4 separate regions of the Homo sapiens genome follow, and regions 2, 3 and 4 are each linked to region 1. Evidence: promoter capture Hi-C in 16 types of primary human blood cells and fetal thymus (Javierre and others, 2016). All regions are on one chromosome and are shown on one strand. Each heading gives the region's core, a stretch centred on a gene start or on the middle of the fragment in contact. The rest is flanking DNA. Distances are from core to core; before and after follow the strand shown.

Region 1 (3,320 bases), core at 412-2,911:
CTTACTGCAACCTCCGCCTCCCGGGTTCAAGCGATTCTCCTACCTCAGCCTTCCCGAGTAGCCGGGATTACAGGCGCGTGTCACCACACCCAGCTAATTTTTGTATTTTTAGTAGAGAAGGGTTTCACCATGTTGGCCAGGCTGGTCTCGAACCCCTGACCTCAGGTGATCCACCCACCTCGGCCTCCCAAAGTGCTGGGATTACAGGTGTGAGCCACCGCACTCGGGCATCATCTCCATTTTAAAAAACATTCATCAAATCAGGATCCAACCAACGTCCACACCTTGTATTGCCACCGAATTTCTCTTAAATCGTTTTGAAACTGCACACAGGTCCTCCTCCCTGCAATTCGCATAGCAACCAAGCTGATCCTCACTGACAATTTCCAAATAACTATAATAACTCTATTCTGGAGATATCACAAGTGCCGGTCTTAGAGCTTGTCAAATGTATACATATATGTTTATATTTATATATAAATGCACAAAAGCACACAAGAAACCATTTCACTCGAAGCAATAACAATCCTGAGAGCTAAACACTCGTTCATGTCTTTTGTGATGCTTCTCGGTGGGGGTTATCTCTGGGATTTAAGCGACACTTCCCCTTACCGGAGACATTTGCGCAAGTGTAGGACGAAGCGAGAGCGGTTCCTTCCAGCCGAACCTGCCTCCGGAGGCCCGGTCCGTGCGTTCGTCTCCGGACTGCAGGGGGCGGCCCTGCCACCACCTCGAGGCCACCTGCGCAGGTGAGAAAAGGAGTTTCAGTCTCCGGGTTCCTGGGGGTGGTCGCAGGTAATCTAGAGGGAATTTTGAGCCAGCCAGGATGGTCATCCAGGAACCTACCCGGACGCAACGGCCTCGGAAAACAAATAGCCGGGCAAGGCCCTGGGGCTTAATCCCAGTGGCGGGCGCGGGCGGGGGCGCCGTCCCCAACGCTCGAGGCCAGGGGAGGGGAGGCAAAGTCGGCCCCAATGAATGCACGCACGCGCGCGCGCGCGCGTGTGTGTGAGACTATTCACCTCTGGGCGCCAGGAAAGAGCGAAGAGTTGCATACACCCATTTCTATAACCTTGCTGGGTTTGTCATGTTTAAAAAGCATCTCCCCTGGAGAGAGGGTGGCGAGTCTCTGGGTGCGGGACACGCCCATTCCCCAGACCCCCTGCCCTCAAACCCACGACAGACCCCAGTTGCTAAGGCTCCGCGGTAATCCCCATCCCGAAGCAGGAAGGCTCGGGCGTCCGGGCTCCACTCCTGGATCTCTTAAGTAGCAGAGAACCCCCAGCCCCTGAGTTCCTGCAAAGGAAATTCCTTCCCCTCCCAGGCGCGCTGAACGCCCGGCCAGGGAGGCTGGGAGCGGCGCGGGGACCGTTCGCCGCCCCGAGGCTGGGACGCCGGTGGCGAGAGCGCCGGGCGCCCTCCACCTGCGCCCGCACTCACCCGAGGATCGATGGCTGTCGGCTCCGCAAGGTTGAGGCCCCGACACCTGCAGCGCCCGTGCCCAGGTGACCGCCCGAGGGAGGGGCGAGGGCCCAGCTCGCCCGCCTGGTCCCGCCCCGCCCCGCCCCGCCCCGCGCGCTCCCGGGAGGGGCAGGGGAGCACGGCCCCGGGACCCCGCGGCGACCCTGCTGTGGCTCAGCCGGCTCCAGACCAGGAAATGCGGGCGTCAGAGACGGGCAACCTTTGAGCGCGCACGTCCCGTCCGGGCCCAACGAAACAAGGGCCGGAGGGCGCCGCCTGCCGGCGGGACGGAAAGATATCACAGAGACTGTCACCCCCCGCCGGCTAGGAGAGGGCTGAGTTGAGGCTGGCAGAGGGACGCAGCCAGGGGTGCGCAGTGCGGGAGCCGCTTGGGGGCTCAGTGAGACCCCCTTCCTCATGCCACATCTTGAGGACCCGGCCCCTGTCCTAGGAGCTCCCCATCTCCCCAGCAGGCGGGCGAGCGGGGGCCACTGGGTCAGGGCCTCTCCTTCCCTTACCTCTGCAAATGTAAACTTGGCAGTTGTCTCCAGATAAGAGTTTACACAGGGTGGCCAGGCGGTGGCTCATGCCTGTAATCCTAGCACTTTGGGAGGTCAAGGTGGGCGGATCACTTGAGGTCAGGAGTTTGAGACCAGCCTGGCCAACATGGTCCACGTTGGTCCCCATGTCTACTAAAAATACAAAAATTAGCCGGGCTTGGTGGCACGCACCTGTAATCCCAGCTATTTGGGAAGCTGAGGCACGAGAATCGCTTGAACCCAGGAGGCGGAGGTTGCAGTGAGCTAAGACCGCACCACTGCACTCCAGCCTGGGCAGCAACAGCAAGACTCCGTATCAAAAAAAAAAAAAAAAAAAAAAAAAAAAAAAAAAAAGAGTATACACAGGGTGACAGAACTTCTTGAAACTTGTATGCTTCTAAGCAACCGCCTGCAGTGTACTGTGAATTCAGATTTTTAAATAAAAATCTGCAAATATTAAATAGCCCATATATTGCATTGCCTTTTTTGTGTCAACAGTGCTAATTTGTTGTCATTCAACAAATATTTGTTGAGCACCTACGACTTGCCGGTCATTTAAACATTTAAAATATCGAACAATTAGGCCAGCGCAGTGGCTCAAGCCTGTAATCCCAGCACTTTGGGAGGCCGAGGCGGGTGGATCACTTGAGGTCACGAGTTCAAGACCAGCCTGGCCAACATGGTGAAACCCTGCCTCTACTAAAAATACAAAAATTAGTTGGGCGTAATGGCACATGCCTGTAGTCCCAGCTACTTGGGAGGCTGAGGCAGGAGAATGACTTGAACCCAGGAGGCAGAGGTTGCAGTGAACCAAGATCACGCCATTACACTCCAGCCTGGGCAACAGAGACAGACTTCATCTGAAACAAATAAAATAAAATAAAATATTGCACAATTTCTTCCTTCTCCTCTTCACGCAGAGCCTTGAACAAGGGGAGTGTCCTGAGCCTCTCAACCTCTCTGAGTGTCATAGCAGTTAGAGATTAAAGATGACCATGTCCATACACGTTTGTATCTCTCCACAATGTCAGTCTTTTTTTTTTTTTAAATGCTATTTCAATCACAAAATCCAGGAGCTACATGGAGTTCCCAAGGAGGCAATTCTCCTTAGTCCTTCCCATTCACTCTGTAGTCAGAGCACATAGGTTCAAGCCACTCCATAAGTCAGTAAATATTGCAAACCATACATACTAGTATACTTAATCACTATACGAATGTTGTAGATTAAACATTCCACAACAAAGTAATATTTAACATCAAGACGAAGAAGAGGAGAAAGGGTTAATGAACCAGTCCAAAGGGAGGGAAGAAGACAAAGGG
Region 2 (3,320 bases), core at 63-2,562, 350 kb before region 1:
TTTTTTTGTATTTTTTTTTTTTTTTAGTAGAGACGGGGTTTCACCGTTTTAGCCGGGATGGTCTCGATCTCCTGACCTCGTGATCCGCCCGCCTCGGCCTCCCAAAGTGCTGGGATTACAGGCGTGAGCCACCGCGCCCGGCCTATAGCAGCATTATTCTTAATTGCCAAAAAGTAGACCCAATGCAAATGTCCGACTGACGAAGGAATAAAAAAAATGTGGTATATTCACATAATGGAATCTTATCAGGCCATAAAAAGAAGTACTGGTACATGCAACAACATGGACTGTGAAAACATTATCTTTCATGAAAGAAGCATAAGCTTCTTGACCAGACATGAAAAGCCACATATTGTACAATTCCTTTTATATGAAATGTCCAGAATAAGCAAATCCATAAAGATAGAAAATAGATTAGTGGTTGCCAGAGGCTTCGAGAAAGGGAGAATCAGGGAGTGACTCCTAATGGATTATAGGGTTAATTTTTGGAGTGATGAAAACATTATGGGCCGAGGCGGGTGGATCACCTAAGGTCAGGAGTTCAAGATCAGCCTGACTAACATGGCGAAAACCCTGTCTCTTACTAATAATACAAAAAAATTAGCCAGGCGTGGTGACACACGCCTGTAATCCCAGCTACTCAGGAGGCTGAGGCAGGAGAATCGCTTGAACCCGGGAGGCAGAGCTTGCAGTGAGCCGAAATCACCCCACTGCACTCTAGCCTGGGCGACAAGAGTGAAACTCCATCTTAAAAAAAAAGAAAGAAAAGAAAACATTATGGAACTAAATTAGCTGTGATGGTTGCACAACTTTGTGAATGTATTAAAAACCACTGAATTGTAGGCTTTAAAAGGGTAAATTTTATGGTATATAAATTATCTCAATAATTTTTTAGAAGTCATTAGAATTAATTTAAGAAATAAAATACAATGTAAATATGGCATAATAGTCATTACTAATTTTTGTTTACCATATTTAAATCTGAAGAAAACTGAGTTTTAAAAATCTCAAAATTGGCCAGGCATGGTGGCTCACATCTGTAATCCCAATGCTTTAGGAGGCCAAGGCAGGAGGATCACTTGAGGCTAAGAGCTTAATGCCAGCCTGGGCAATACAGTGAGACCCTGTCTCTACAAAAAAAATGAAAAAATGAGGCAGGCGCAGTGGCACATGCCTGTAGTCCTAGCTACTAGGGAGGCTGAGGTGCAAGGACTATGAGCCCAGCAATTTGAAGCTGCGGTGAGCTATGAATGCATCACTGTACTCCACCAGCCTAGAGCAACAGAGTGAGACTCTGTCTCTAAAAAAGAAAAACGAAACAAAAAACCCTCAAAATAAATGTATAGAAAACCCCTGGCCGGGCGCGATGGCTCACGCCTGTAATCCCAGCACTTTGGGAGGCCGAGGCAGGCGGATCACCTGAGGTCAGGAGTTCGAGACCAGACTGACCAACATGGAAAAACCCCGTGTCTACTAAAAATACAAAATTAGCCGGGCGTGGTGGTGCATGCCTATAATCCCAGCTGCTCAGGAGGCTGAGGCAGGAGAATCACTTGAACCTGGGAGGCGGAGATTGCAGTGAGCCGAGATCACACCGTTGCACTCTAGCCTGGGCAACAAATACGAAACTCTGTCTCCAAACAAACAAACAAACAAACAAAAAAACCAGAAAACCCCCACCCAAGAATCAGCCAGGCGTGGTGGCTCACGCCTGGAATCCCAGCACTTTGGTTGGGAGGCCGAGGCAGGCGGATCACCTGAGGTCAGGAGTTCAAGACCAGCCTGACCAACATGGAGAAAACCCGTCTCTACTAAAAATACAAAATTAGCGGGGTGTGGTGGTGCATGCCTGTAATCTCAGCTACTCAGGAGGCTGAGGCAGGAGAATCTGGGAGGTGGAGGTTGCGGTGAGCTGAGATCTCACCATTTTACTCCAGCCTGGGCAACAAGAGTGAAACTCCTCAAAAAAAAAAAAGAAAAAAAAGAAAGAAAGAAAGAAAAGAAAACCCCCAAGAATCTCAATTCTCTATAAAAACTTAAATAAATAGAGGACCCTCCAACTGTTCCAATGCAGCTAAAGTAACTGTCACACTGCCTAATCACTAAGCAAAGCTGTGCTGCTATATGGATGGTAACACAGGCAATATCTGCAGACATGTCTCATTTAATCCACAGTATTTTAAAAGGCACGGTAAGTAACCAGCTATTTTTCTTTTAAATGACCAGTCAATATTCCACATTTATGCTATATGCCTGGCCCCCAGAGCTTTCAATCCTTGCTTTATTCCATAACTAAGCTTCCTTGAGTTCTATACCTAACTACTCTTACTTACATAATACTTCTTATTATTAAATGGTGTCTCAGTTCATGGCAAATCAGAAAGAAAAATAAAGGTTGGGTGCGGTGGCTCACAACTGTAATCCCAACACTTTGAGAGGCCAAGGCAGGAGGATCACTTGAGCCCAGGAGTTCGAGACCAGCTTGAGCAACATACCAAGACCATCTCTACAAAAAAAAAAAAAAAAATTTTTTTTTTTAATTAGCCAGGCACAGTGGTGTGCGCCTCTGGTCCCAGCTACTAGGGAGGGTGAGGTGGGAGGATCACTTGAGCCCAAAGGTTGAGGCTGCAGTGACCGCAATCTCACCACTGCACTTCAGCCTAGGCGATAAAGACTCTGTCACAAAAAAAGAAAAAAAAAGGAGGAAAGAAAAACAAGGATCTCCTGAAGACTGACAGCAAATAAAAGGTAGGAAAGGAAAAAAATTCGGACAAAAATAACTTGCAGTCTGAGGCCAGGTAGCCTGTATCTATCTCAGTCTCCTGAGCTATCACCACGCTAGAAAAGTATAGCAACTGAGATTAAAATAAATCACCCAGAGTTTTGAAGGGTAGCATTTTTAAAGGTAAAAGCTCCAATTATCTGAAAATTTAGCTCAAACAAAAAGCCTGTTTGAAAATGCTCAATAAATGTGTTCATTAGATATTTAATTTTAGAAAGATAATCTCTGAATACTTACCTAAACGGCTACATAATTCTCTACTTGTTTTTAAATCCATTTTCTCCTGTTCCTCAAGTGAGACATCTGGATAAGACACTGTTTTTTGAAGTTTACCACTACTGTGAGCCTTCTCTGACTGTCTTGATATGGACTTACTTGCCTCTGTCTTTGTGAGCTCTTTAGACTGGGATACAGCAGAAGTAAGTGACACATTTGGGGCAACCACTTTATCACACATGTATAAGTAGTAGCTGAAAACAAGTAAAAGCAAAACAAGACATATATTACATATTACAATTAAGTAAAAATCAAATATGTA
Region 3 (3,320 bases), core at 472-2,971, 330 kb before region 1:
TTGTGTTTTCTTCTTTGTACTTTTTTAGTATTTACTACAATGGGCCTATATTGTTTTCATAATCACACAAAAAAATTTAACATAGACTATAAAAAGCATAGAAGTCTTAAATCATTTTTATTAAGTTTTGTTTTGTCTTGTTTTTTTTGAGAAAAACAGGGTCTTGCTCTGTTGCCCAAGCTTGGAGTGCAGAGGTGCCATCACAGCTCACTGCGGTCTCAACCTCCCCAACTCAAGCGATACTCCCATCTCAGCCCCACAAGTAGTTGGGACTACAGGCATGCCCCACCAAGCCCAGCTAATTGTTTTTTTCAATCTTTTGTAAAGACAGGGTCAAACTATGTTACCCAAACTTTTAGTAAGTTTCTTAAGCTTTTTAATTCCTTGTTCCCATAAAAAATGCAAAATATGTACTTTTAATGCCATTTGAAATCTCAGAATAAATTCAACATCACAAATAAAAACGAAATGCTGGTTTGTTTTAAAACTAAACCTGTTTCCCTCTTCGAGAATCACTGGTAACTTTATAGGGCCACTTAGACTTCACTGTTATCCAAACCTTTATTAGGCATCTACCACATTCTAGATTCGAAGACTGTAAGATATAAGAAGACTGTAAGACTATAAGATGAACTCCTGCTCGGGGGGGGGGGGGGGGCTCTCTCTCTCTCTCTCTGTATATATACATATATATGTATATATAGAAATATTACATATTTCTATGATCCACTCTTAAGTCTAGAAGTCATGAAATCAAAAGGACTCAAACTAATTTTATATCTTTCCTATTCATTCTTTCTGCCTAATATAATGAGTTAGTGATTGAAGCAAACCACATTTTATTTTATTTTATTTTTTTGAGACGGAGTCTCACTCTGTCTCCCAGGCTGGAGTGCAGTGGCGCGATCTCGGCTCACTGCAAGCTCCGCCTCCCGGGTTTACGCCATTCTCCTGCCTCAGCCTCCCGAGTAGCTGGGACTACAGGCGCCTGCCACCGCGCCCGGCTAATTTTTTGTATTTTTAGTAGAGACGGGGTTTCACCATGTTAGCCAGGATGGTCTCGATCTCCTGACCTCATGATCCGCCCGTCTCAGCCTCCCAAAAGTGCTGGGACTACAGGCGTGAGCCACCGCGCGCAGCCGGAAGCAAATCACATCTTACAACAAGATGCATTGTTTATATATTCTTTTGCTTTCTAGAGTCTAATAAAATCCTTATTTTATGTAATATGAATCCCAGTAGAATAAAATTCTATATGTGAACAAAATACAGATTCAAGCTATTACCAAAGCTATTCTCAAACAAGTTCTACCCCTTTACTAGGAACAAACTGAATTCTAGCTCGACAATCACTTTCCACTCCCAGAATTCTAAAGGGATTAAAATTAGCCCAATTCGCTGGGTGCGGTGGCTCACGCCTGTAATCCCAGCACTTTGGGAGGCTGAGACAGGCAGATCACCTGAGGTACGGAGTTCGAGATCAGCCTGACCAATATGGTGAAACCACATCTCTACAAAAAATACAAAAATTAGCCAGCTATGGTGGCACATGACTGTAATTCCAGCTACTAGGGAGGCTGAGGCATGAGAATCACTTGAACCCAGGAGGCGGAGGTTGCAGTGAGCCGAGATTGCCTTATTGCACTCCAGCCTGAGCTACAAGAGCAAAACTCCTTATCAAAAAAAAAATTAGCCCAATTCTTGATTACTTCTTTGGTTTCCCAGTGGCATAATTGATAACATATGCACTGCTACGAGAAAACTACTGGCTGACTATGATGATCCAGGCCTACTCTGAAAACACGGCCATCTCTTTTTTGTTTTTCTTCTTTAAAGTTTCTAAGTTTTTTCCCATTTCTCAAACAAAAAGGATAAATTTCTAACTTTCAAAAATCATATGCTAACAATTCTATTTTTTAATAATAAAAATAAAGAGGCTCTATTTCCTAAACCACAGGGGGCACTATTTGCAAAGCCACTCTACAGATTTCAAAAAAAAAAAAAAAAAAAAAAAATGCCAGGGATAGGGAGGGTCCACATATCCTGTTATTAACAGAATGAGCTCCAAAAACTTGATTACTCTGAAGTTATTATAAAAGTCGTTTTGTAAAAAATGAGAAAGGCACTAAACAAAACCTTATCCAATCTAAGCAGGTCTGTATTGGTCTCCATCATTCAAAACCCCAATGTGGTATCAACCGAATAAATGGAATGGGCACTATCTCCAATCAATGTATCTTTTTGGGTAACAAGTCGAAAATAATGAAATAATTCAGAAAATGCTTCTATAATAAAAAAACTGTTTCACACTTTCTTCTTGCACACTTCATTTTAGTAAGCAAATATCCAACTACTGTAATTACTGTGTAAAAAAAACTATAAATGAGATACATTTGAACCCAACATTCAGTTATCTTGTTTGTCTCAGAAATATAATTCTAGATAAGAAAATGAGGAAAGGAGGACTCCTCAAATACATAATATTTCAATAGTAGTTTGAAATACCATCCTACATTTCTGCAGTAAAGGCTCTTAACTTCCAAAATGCTCATTCTCTTGTTTGATGAATTATATTAACAGTTTATGTGCAAATTGTATCTGTTTAAAGGTTAAGCCATCTTTAAAAGAAAATCCAAATATTCTAAAATATAGTTTAGTGTTATTTTTCAAAAATCTATTCAGTTAAAAAAAGAAAAATTTAATTGAGTGCCTTTGACATGCCAGGCTTTGAACTCGGTTCCAAAAAAATAGAAAAAATACTCTGTAAACTAGTGGGAACAGTTACTAATTTTAGAAAGTTAGACAAAAGTATTCATAATGGTCCCTCATATGAGCACAAATACTTCATCTGACTCTCAACTTATCCCCACTTGATCAAAAATTTTGCTAATTGCAAAATATAATCTGTATCACTGGGGTAGCAAATCACCATCAAATCCACCACAATTATTACTAGATCACATTCTGTCCCAACACAACTCTTTGTAGTTGCCCATTCTACTGTTCCTTATCTCAATTAGGTTTATACTGACAAATACGCTGCCTAATACAAGTATAATTAAAAGCTTGCAAGAGGGGAGAAATATTTTGTACTATTATTACTCCAATGATCTCTACAGAAATGAAGAAGTGAAACGAAAATGCAAAATTAAACTCTCAAACGGCTAATACGCTTTCAGGGAAAAAAAATTTTTTAAGTTGCTATCTTTAGGTCATCTGTTTGTATCATAAGTAATCTATAGAGATTTTTCCCCCCTAAGTAGATTAAAAACTAAAATATTTTACTTACCTAAGAGTAGTCCAGTCTAAATGTTAAAAGT
Region 4 (3,320 bases), core at 501-3,000, 290 kb after region 1:
AGTCTACTTGTCACCAAAGTCTGGACTGCTAATCACCATAATTCCCATGTCTTACTTTCAAAATGGGGATAAAATAATACTTAACTTGAAAGATTGGCCTTATTCAATTTCTGGAAAAACTAAACATACATTTACAATGTATCCCACCAATCATACTCCTAGACATCTATCCCAGAGAAATGAAAACTTATGTTCATACAAAAACCTTTACACAATTGTTCATAGCAGTTTTATTTTTAATAGCCCCAAACTAGAAAAAAAGAAAAAAAAAGTTCTTCAGTGGGTGACTGATTAAACAAACTGTGGTACATCCATACCATGGAATATCACTGAGCAATAAAAAAACAAACTATTGATACATGCAACAGCTTGGGTGCACTTCCAGCATTATGCTAGGTGAAACAAACCAATCACACAAGGTCACATACTGGATGATTCAATTTACATGACATCTTCAAGATAACAACATTGTAGAGATGGAGAATAGCTTAGTGGCTGCCAGGGAATAGGGGTGGTGGAGGGAAGGGGGCTGTAACTGTGAAGGGGTAGCATGAGGGAGATGTTCGTGGTGATGAAATAGTTTTTTATCTTAATTGAATTCGTGGTTACGTAAATTGACTGGTGTGATCAAATGACAACTACACATGTGTTGTACCAGTGTCAATTGTCTCCTTTTGATATTGTGCTATAATTATGTAAGATGTCCCCTTTAGGGGAGATGAAGTGAAGGGTACATGGAACTTCTCTGTACTATGTTTCCAACTTCCTATGAATCTATAGTTATTTCAAAATAATAAGTTGAAAAAAGTAGCCTTATTGACTTTTCTCTCCCTCCTTACTCTGTCTTCCCCAGTCCATCTTGTCACTCCGTCAGACACCAGGTAATATGAGACTCTGTTCTTTCCTTCTTTTACCCCTATCCCCATCATCTAAGCAGTCTTGAAGTCCTGTCCATTTCATCCCTGTGTGGCATCTCTCCAGTCTGACTGCCCCTCCCCACCTTCTTTGCTCTGGGTCAGACCCCCTAGTCTGACCTTCTGCAATAGCTCCCTGCTGGTCTCCTATCTTTCACCTATCTTGTACAATGCTGGTGACCTCTTTAAAATAGAAATCATATCCTATTACTTCTCTGCCCAAGAACAGTTGGTTGTTCCTTGACACCTGTGGTTTCGAATCACCTCCTTGCTGCGGCGGACAAGAGACTTCATTCAGTTCCTGTTCTGCATTCCTCTTATAAGCAATAGATCTGGATGTACTGGAGGCTCATGTTCCCGTTTTTGGTAGATGAGTAGAAAGTTGGCTCAGCAAGTTAGAGTTAGCCCACTAGAACAGGTGGATGCCAGTTTCTGGGCTGCAGAGACCCGACCCTCCCTTTCTATCAAGCTACTTCTGTGACCACGGGACATCCAAGTGCATAGATGTTCCCTGTTCCCTACAGGATTGTAGGGCAGGGTCCCTTTCTACTGCACTGTTAGCCATGGACATGTGGCCCATCTACACAGGGCCGAAACTGTGGGATAATGAGAGTTCAGGGGATTGCGGACACTCTGCTCCTTCTCTGCTTGTAAGCTTTCCTTTTATCACCTTTATTTTTTACCTTCCCTATGTGACACTAGGCATATATGCCCAGGACACCTCTGCCTGACACTTCCTCACCAGACTCACCTGCTGATACTCAGTGAGCCTGTGGTATCCCATAATGATCTGTGGTTTTCAGAAAATGTCCCTTCTCTGCTAGATCATGTGCTATTTAGTTTTCGATTACTTACACCTTCCTGGATCCTGGCTGTGTCCCTCCAAGCAGAAACAGAGCTACTGTGTTTCATTTTACTTAGCGCCCCTTCATTCTTCTATCATGGGACATCTAACATTGTTTTAAAATCCAGCTGTGAGGTTTGCTTCCCTTTCACCTCCCCAGACTGTGAAGCTTTTTGAAAGATGGGATACCTTGTCTTTTAGCTTTGTATTCCTGAAGCTTGCGAGAACCTCGCACAGGGTTGGTATTTAGTACACATATGTTAAACGAGCAAATTTTGACATGCATGAGAGCATTTTATGAACAGTAAATGCTATACCAGCCTTAGTTATGATGACAATATCTTAATGAAGCCAGCAGAATAAATCATAATGGTTGGAACCGGAGCTGTCAATATAGCAAAATCAGTTACCAATTTTAAAAACATCAGCCCCTTGACACACACACAGATATACACACAGACACATCCTCCATAGTGCATAGTGTGTAGTCAGCTTTCATACTTGGCCTAATACACTGCAAAGATTAAAGGTCTTTTTCCCTTTTCTTCGCAGACATTCATGGTGGGGGCTTGTTCCTCACAATCCACACATTACGCTTCACATTCGCGTCATTCGAATACAAGATAGCTGTTACAGGACGTGGTGTGGTGCTTGGTGTGGTGGTTGACAGAGTTAAATAAATATTTTTTAGAGGGGAAAATACTTTTTTATGTGCAAAAACAACTGAATTTCGGCCACCAAATCATTTCCTCCAGCTCAACACCAGCCACCAGAATAAAGACAGGTCATTCCTCACATTGATTGATCTGAGGCTCAGAGCTCTGTCTCCCTTTCCTAGTGGGAGAGGTTGTGGGAGAAGTTGAACATGGCTGGGTTCTCTGACTCAGATGCATTGCTTTTATGGTAGCATTTTGCCCTAAAGGGGCTTTCTGTAAATTTGAGCTTAAGTATGTACTACTAGAGGCCTAAAGAAGGCTAAGTGGTAGCTACTCTATTTTTCAAAAGAATATTAATAGCTAAATGTAAAGTTAAAAACTGACTTTGGGCCGGGCGCGGTGGCTCACGCCTGTAATCCCAGCACTTTGGGAGGCCGAGGCGGGTGGATCATGAGGTCAGGAGATCGAGACCATCCTGGCTAACAAGGTGAAACCCCGTCTCTACTAAAAATACAAAAAAAATTATCCGGGCGCGGTGGCGGGCGCCTGTAGTCCCAGCTACTCGGGAGGCTGAGGCAGGAGAATGGCGTGAACCCGGGAAGCGGAGCTTGCAGTGAGCCGAGATTGCGCCACTGCAGTCCGCAGTCCCACCTGGGCGACAGCGAGACTCCGTCTCAAAAAAAAAAAAACAAAACAAAACAAAAAAAAACTGACTTTGCCATGAGTGTTTCCAGTGATTTTTATGATAAAACACATTAACCTATTCATAAGGTAAATTTTGAAATGAAGTTAAGGTAATTAAAAAGAGACATTACTTATATTTCTTCTCGATTGCAGCAGCTAATATTGTGGGCCAAATGGAACTCAGTAAAACATGATTTGCTTTCAACTTTAATCGAAACTAAG

Evidence for each region. The method cuts DNA at HindIII sites, captures the fragments that hold promoters and counts their contacts. A CHiCAGO score of 5 or more calls a contact.
Region 2: a contact is called between a fragment that was not itself captured here and the fragment with the promoter of GPR160 in region 1, in 1 of 17 cell types (neutrophils). The highest score is 8.6, in neutrophils.
Region 3: a fragment that was not itself captured here is called in contact with the fragment with the promoter of GPR160 in region 1 in 1 of 17 cell types (neutrophils); the score reaches 8.9 in neutrophils.
Region 4: a contact is called between a fragment that was not itself captured here and the fragment with the promoter of GPR160 in region 1, in 1 of 17 cell types (naive B cells). The highest score is 5.5, in naive B cells.

What each region holds. Positions count from the first base shown.
Region 1 is chr3:170,036,336-170,039,655 of GRCh38, reverse strand. GPR160 (G protein-coupled receptor 160) reads right to left here and starts at 1,661. Exons shown (of 4, transcript NM_014373.3): 1 at 1,441-1,661; 2 at 613-741. RefSeq lists silencers at 637-686, 847-896, 1,207-1,686 and an enhancer at 282-781. The HindIII fragment of the contact is 12,490 bases long and covers 1-3,320 here.
Region 2 is chr3:170,384,465-170,387,784 of GRCh38, reverse strand. SKIL (SKI like proto-oncogene) reads right to left here. Exons shown (of 7, transcript NM_005414.5): 4 at 3,020-3,252. Among named protein-coding and RNA genes, the nearest start is that of SKIL, 28 kb to the right of the region's middle. RefSeq lists a silencer at 3,068-3,268. The HindIII fragment of the contact is 1,974 bases long and covers 326-2,299 here.
Region 3 is chr3:170,367,778-170,371,097 of GRCh38, reverse strand. The region is part of intron 2 of SKIL (SKI like proto-oncogene); the gene reads right to left. Among named protein-coding and RNA genes, the nearest start is that of SKIL, 12 kb to the right of the region's middle. The HindIII fragment of the contact is 2,693 bases long and covers 375-3,067 here.
Region 4 is chr3:169,745,027-169,748,346 of GRCh38, reverse strand. No RefSeq gene overlaps it. Among named protein-coding and RNA genes, the nearest start is that of ACTRT3, 23 kb to the left of the region's middle. The HindIII fragment of the contact is 358 bases long and covers 1,572-1,929 here.